2 separate regions of the Homo sapiens genome follow, and region 1 is linked to region 2. Evidence: promoter capture Hi-C in human tissues and cell types (Jung and others, 2019). All regions are on one chromosome and are shown on one strand. The core of a region is centred on a gene start or on the middle of the fragment in contact, and the rest is flanking DNA. Distances in the headings are between cores, read along the strand shown. Region 1 has its middle 43 kb from the start of LINC00488. Region 2 holds the start of DPPA2 (developmental pluripotency associated 2).

Evidence for each region. The method cuts DNA at HindIII sites, captures the fragments that hold promoters and counts their contacts. A contact is called where the count stands out against the background at its distance.
Region 1: a fragment that was not itself captured here is called in contact with the fragment with the promoter of DPPA2 in region 2 in 3 of the 25 tissues and cell types used here (adrenal gland, aorta and small bowel).

The regions. Positions count from the first base shown.
Region 1 is chr3:109,219,549-109,222,582 of GRCh38, forward strand. No RefSeq gene overlaps it. Among named protein-coding and RNA genes, the nearest start is that of LINC00488, 43 kb to the left of the region's middle. The HindIII fragment of the contact is 7,551 bases long and covers 1-3,034 here.
Region 2 is chr3:109,315,042-109,318,153 of GRCh38, forward strand. It overlaps DPPA2 (developmental pluripotency associated 2), which reads right to left and starts at 1,476. Exons shown (of 9, transcript NM_138815.4): 1 at 1,243-1,476. The HindIII fragment of the contact is 15,346 bases long and covers 1-3,112 here.

The DNA of each region.
Region 1 (3,034 bases), core at 113-2,612, 96 kb before region 2:
ATCCACACCAAAACTCCACCTGTAGGTCACCAGCATCAAAGACCAAAGATAAATAAAACCACAAAGATGGGGAGAAACCAGAGCAGAAAAGCTGAAAATTCTAAAAACCAGAGCACCTCTTCTCCTCCAAAGGATTGCATCTCCTTGCCAGCAATGGAACAAAGCTGGATGGAGAATGACTTTGATGAGTTCACAGAAGTAGGCTTCAGAAAGTCGGTAATAACAAACTTCTCCGAGCTAAAGGAGGATGTTCGAACCCATCGCAAGGAAGCTAAAAACCTTGAAAAAAGATTAGACGAATGGCTAACTAGAATAAACAGTGTAGAGAAGACTTTAAATGACCTGATGGAGCTGAAAACCATGGCACGAGAACTATGTGACACATGCACAAAATTCAATAGCCAATTTGATCAAGTGGAAGAAAGGGTATCAGTGATTGAAGATCAAATGAATGAAATAAAACGAGGAGACAAGTTTAGAGAAAAAAGTGTAAAAAGAAATGAACAAAGCCTCCAAGAAATATGGGACTACATGAAAAGACCAAATCTACATTTGATTGGTATACCTGAAAGTGATGGGGAGAATGGAACCAAGCTGGAAAACACTCTGCAGGATATTATCCAGGAGAACTTCCCCAACCTAGCAAGGCAGGCCAACATTCAGATTCAGGAAATACAGAGAACGCCACAAAGATACTCCTCGAGAAAAGCAACCCCAAGACATATAATTGTCAGATTCATCAAGGTTGAAATGAAGGAAAAAATGTTAAGGGCAGCCAGAGAGAAAGGTTGGGTTACCCACAAAGGGAAGCCCATCAGACCAACAGCGGATCTCTCAGCAGAAACTCTACAAGCCAGAAGAGAGCGGGGGCCAATATCCAACATTCTTAAAGAAAAGAATTTTCAACCCAGAATTTCATATCCAGCCAAACTAAGCTTCATAAGTGAAGGAGAAATAAAATCCTATAAAGACACATGCACACGTATGTTTATTGCGGCACTATTCACAATAGCAAAAACTTGGAATCAACCCAAATGTCCATCAATGATAGACTAGATAAAGAATATGTGGCACATATACACCATGGAATACGCGCAGCCATAAAAAAAGGATGAGTTCATGTCCTTTGCAGGGACATGGATGAAGCTGGAAACCACCATTCTGAACAAACTATCACAAGGATGGAAAATCAAACACCACATGTTCTCACTCATAGGTGGGAATTGAACAATGAGAACACTTGGACACAGGGCAGGGAACATCACACATGGGGGCCTGTCATGGGGTGGGGGGCAAGGGGAGGGATAGCATTAGGAGAAATACCTAATGTAAATGACGAGTTAATGGGTGCAGCAAACCAACATGGCACATGTATACATATGTAACAAACCTGCACGTTGTGCACATGTACCCTAGAACTTAAAGTATAATAATAATAAATAAATAAATAAATAAATAATAAAGTTGATTTCTAGTTTAAAAAAAAGTGTTTGGAAGAGCCTCTGGTACACGGTCAGTGCTCAGTAAATACTAACCATGATTATTATTGTTATTATTAGAAATTATTTCAAGGAGGAGCCCCAGACCCTGAAGAGTAGTAATAACTGCCATTTATTGAGCACTTACTACATGCCAGGGAGTCTGCTAAAGGTTCCATATGTGTTTATGGAACCAAGCCAAGACCTCATTTAGGCCTTGCCACAGATCCCGTGAGCCTACATACCATTAAACACACTCTACAGATGAGCAACTGAGGATTCAGAGAGTTCAAAGTATGTTGCTCAAAGTGGTAACAATTAAGTGCCCAAACTCTCTTCTCATCTGGTCCTCCCTCCTGATCCTGCTTCCTTTGTCTACAGAAAAAAAGCAATTTTAACCCCAGAGAAATTGAAAGAATCTGGTTTTTGAGGACTGGACTGTTTTTAAGGACTTGGGGGAGGTGGTATTAAGGGGTTAGAGGACAGATTTTATAAACTTCTGGTTATAACTTTCTGGTTAGAGATTTTGCAACATTTAAAATGTGGCATGATGACCAGTGATGAGCATTTTTTCATGGCTTCCAATCCTGCACCTTCCACCTAATAAATCTAAACAAAATTACAAACTTCCAGGTCCTCATCTTTTTTTTTTTTTTTTTTTTTTTTGAGATGGCGTCTCACTCTGTCACCCAGGCTGAAATGCAGTGGCACAATCTTGGCTCGCTGCAACCTCCGCCTCCTGGGCTCAAGTAATCCTCCCACCTCAGCCTCCTGAGTAGCTGGGAACACAGGCACATGCCACCACGCCTGGCTAATTTTTTGTATTTTTGGTAGTGATGGGGTTTCATCATGTTGCCCATGCTGGTCTTGAGCTCCTGAGTTCAAGCAATCCACCTACTTCCAAAGTGCTGGGATTACAGGCATGAGCCACTGCACTCAACTTTTAAATGTTTGTTTCGTCTCTAAGGAATAAATGAGATCATTGTAATGTACGTAAAACAATTGACACAGAATAGTCACTTGATAAATATAACTATTAATTTTAGAGCATAACTCATATGTTTTATAATGACCTAAATTTTACCTGCAAAACTACTCTCAGAAATTATGTTAATCTTTAAAAACTCATGATAGCCACCAAAAATGTTTTTCATAAATATTTTGATCTTAGAACTCTTAGAAAGAAAATCACATAACTACATTGCTTTTCAATACTTACACTTATATTCTAATTGTAGTTTTGATCCTACACTGAAAAAAAATAAAAATTTTAAAAAATGAATTTATCTCTTATGGTCAAGCCCACAGAAATGATCCTTTTAAAGTGAATACTAACCAAAAGCTCATAGACCAATGAAACATTTTAGAGACCCCTGAAATAAAGCTGCACACCTACACCAGCTCATCTTCAACAAAGTTGACAAAAATGAACAATGAGGAAAGTACACTTTATTCAATAAATGTTGTTGGGAAAACTGGCTAACCATATGCAGAAGAATGAAATTGGACCCCTACCTATTACCATATACAAAAATTAACTCAAGATGCATTAAAGA
Region 2 (3,112 bases), core at 226-2,725:
GCGAGACTCTGTCTCAACAAGTGAAAGAAGGAAAGAAAGAAGAAAAAAAAATAGGTGAAACTTGAAAGAAAACTGAAAATGACAAACACTTGTTGACAAGTTCCAATGGAATGAACAGAATGTTTTAGAACAGTTATAAGACGATATTGGTAACAAATTACTTATTACGAAGGGAATGGAAAAAAGATTCAGAGCATTTTACGCAGGTATTTTATACCTGATTTATGCACGGGGGTATGTTACTCACTGAAAGATTCCAGATTTAAATTGTGGGGGTTGGATAACATAATCTCTCTTCGATCTAGTTCTAAATACAAATATTAAGCCTGCAATAATATTGAGCTGGTTGGAGGAGAAGGATTTGGCTGTTCAGAATAGCAACAAGAGCCAAAACACCAAGGCAAGTGGTGGAGTAACGAAGGCAGAAGGAACGATGCACTTAGGAATTGCTGGAGCCTAATGTTGGACACGGAATGTGGCAAAATATGAAGCAGGTGTTCTCATAGGTCACTCTAAGAAGCCAGAGCAACTAAAGGAAATTTCATTCACCAATAATATGGCAGCACTGGACAACCAAGTACCTTTACAATGGGCTTTTTCTGTCCCTGGGAAAATGATTTGGTCCATTAATCTCAGGACCCAGGGTGACCATGGTCCATTTAAGTTACTAGTGTATTTAACACATTCAAAATATTGTCTGGACCTGGCACGGTGGCTCATGTCTGTAATCCTTTGGGAGGCCTTTGGGAGGCCGAGGAAGGACGACCACTTGAGTCCAGAAGTTCGAGACCAGCCTGGGCAATATAGTGAGACCTCATCTCTATGAATAAATAAATAAATAAATAAATTTACAAAAGAAAAAAATGTAGTCTGAAAAAGCTCAGCTTCAGTTTACTGAGGAACTGATTGGAAAAATAAATTATGAGGCCCCACCCCACCACCCAAGACATCCTGAATCAGATCATGGAGGGTGAGGCTGAGGGGCTGAGGAATCTGTGCTTCCACAAGCCCTCCAGGTAATTTTTTCTTTTTTTCTTTTTTTAGACAGGCTCTGACGCCCAGGCTGGAGTGCGGTGGCGCGATCATAGCTCACTGCAGCCTCGACCTCCTGGACTCAAGCGATCTTCCCACTACAGCCCATGCCGTCCCACCCCCGCCCCTCCCCCCACACTCCAGTAGTTGGGATTACAGGCCCGCGCCACCACGCCCCGCTAATATTTAAATTTTTTGTAGAGAGGAGACCTGGGATGGAAGGAGATTGCGGGGACGGAGAGGATGTGGGTAGGGGGCCTCACTGTGTTGCCCAGGCTGGTCTTGAATTCCTGGCTGAGTTCCCAGACTCAAGTTGATCCTCCCTCCGCAGCCTTCGGAGTGGGTGGGACTACAGGCCTGCACCGCCACGCCCAGCCCTCCGGACGATTCTTAAGCTCCTGAAGTCTAGAAGCCTTAGCTAGATCAGGCCATAAACAAAGGGCTTTGGAGACAGGCAGTCCGCGGCAGATAATGATCGGAATTCCGGCTCCTCCCTTCCAGGGTGGAACCTGAATGCAGCCCTCTAAGATGCAGCCAGGAAAGCACTCCGCCTACCCGGTTGGGTGTGGCCCCTGGTGCTTTGAATGGGCAATTTAGAGGAAAGCTGACCTAATGGCCTGAGTTGATCCTAATGCCTTAGGTAGGGACAGGATTTCGAGTGGGAAGACCATTTCATTACCATGTTTTCTTTTCTTCATTGCATTTTTTACAATATAATCATTTTAGGCCGGGCGCGGTGGCTCACGTCTGTAATCCCAGCACTTTGGGAGGCGGAGGCGGGCGGATCACCTGAGGTCAGGAGTTCAAGACCAGTCTGGCTAACATGGCGAAACCCCGTCTCTACTAAAAATACAAAAATTCGCCGGGCATGGTGGCACATGCCTGTAATCCGAGCTACTAGGGAGACTGAGGCAGAACAATCGCTTGAACCCGGGAGGCGGAGGTTGCGGTGAGCCGAGATTGCGCCATTGCACTCCAGCCTGGGCAACAAGAGCGAAACTCCGTCTCAAAAAAAAAAAAAAAGTAAGAAAATCTATGAAAATCTATGGGAAGAATCTATATTGGAATAGCTTAGGGAAACTTTAGAGAAGATTACACTTTTTGAGGAAGAGCTTACCAGTCGTGGAAGTAGTCAATACAAACAGGGAACAGACTCCCTAGCTACTCGGGAGTCTGAGGCACGAGAATCGCTTGAACCCAGGAGGTGGAGATTGCAGTGAGCCAAGATCACGCCACTGCACTCCAGCCTGGGCGACAGAGAGAGACTCTGTCCCCCCAAAAAAAAAAAAAAAAAAATCTTATTTGTTTTCCTGGGGTTTTTTCCCCAGCTTTTTGAGAATGTTTTATTATGGGAAGGTTCAAACATGTACAAAAGTGTGTCTACTTTTTGTCATAGTAATTTACTTACAGCCAGTCTGGTTACATCTAAATTGCCGTCCATTCCTCCTCCATGGGTTATTTTGAAACAAGTGCCAGATCGCCTATGATTTCGTTCATAAATTCAGGGAAAAGGCCGGTGCCATGGCTCACACCTGTAATCTCAGCACGTCAGGAGGCCGAGGTGGCAGGAACAGTTGAGCCCAAGAGTATGAGACCAGCCTCGGCAAGATAGTGAGATCTCATTGTTACCAAAAAAATAAAAATGAAAATAAAAATAAAATAACCGGGCGTGTGGGTGTGGTGAGACATGCCTGTGGTCCTAGCTACTCAGGGGGCTGAGGTCAGAGGATCCCTTCAGCCCAGGAGCCCGAGGCTGCAGTGAGGCTGTCTCAATAAATAAATAAATAAATCCAGGGGGAAAAAATACTTCGTTCCTATTATAACTACGATATCCTTTTTACATCTAAACATAATTTAAAAAATCATTATTTAATATTATCAAAGTATTCAAATATATGTTATGTTCAAATATCCAGCAGTATTCAAAACTCCAATTATCTGGCTGGGCACCGTGGCTCACGCCTGTAATCCCAGCACTTTGGGAGGCCAAGGCAGGTGGATTACCTGATGTCAGGAGTTTGAGACCAGCCGGCCAACATGGAGAAACCCTGTCTGTACTAAAAATACAAAAATTAGCCAG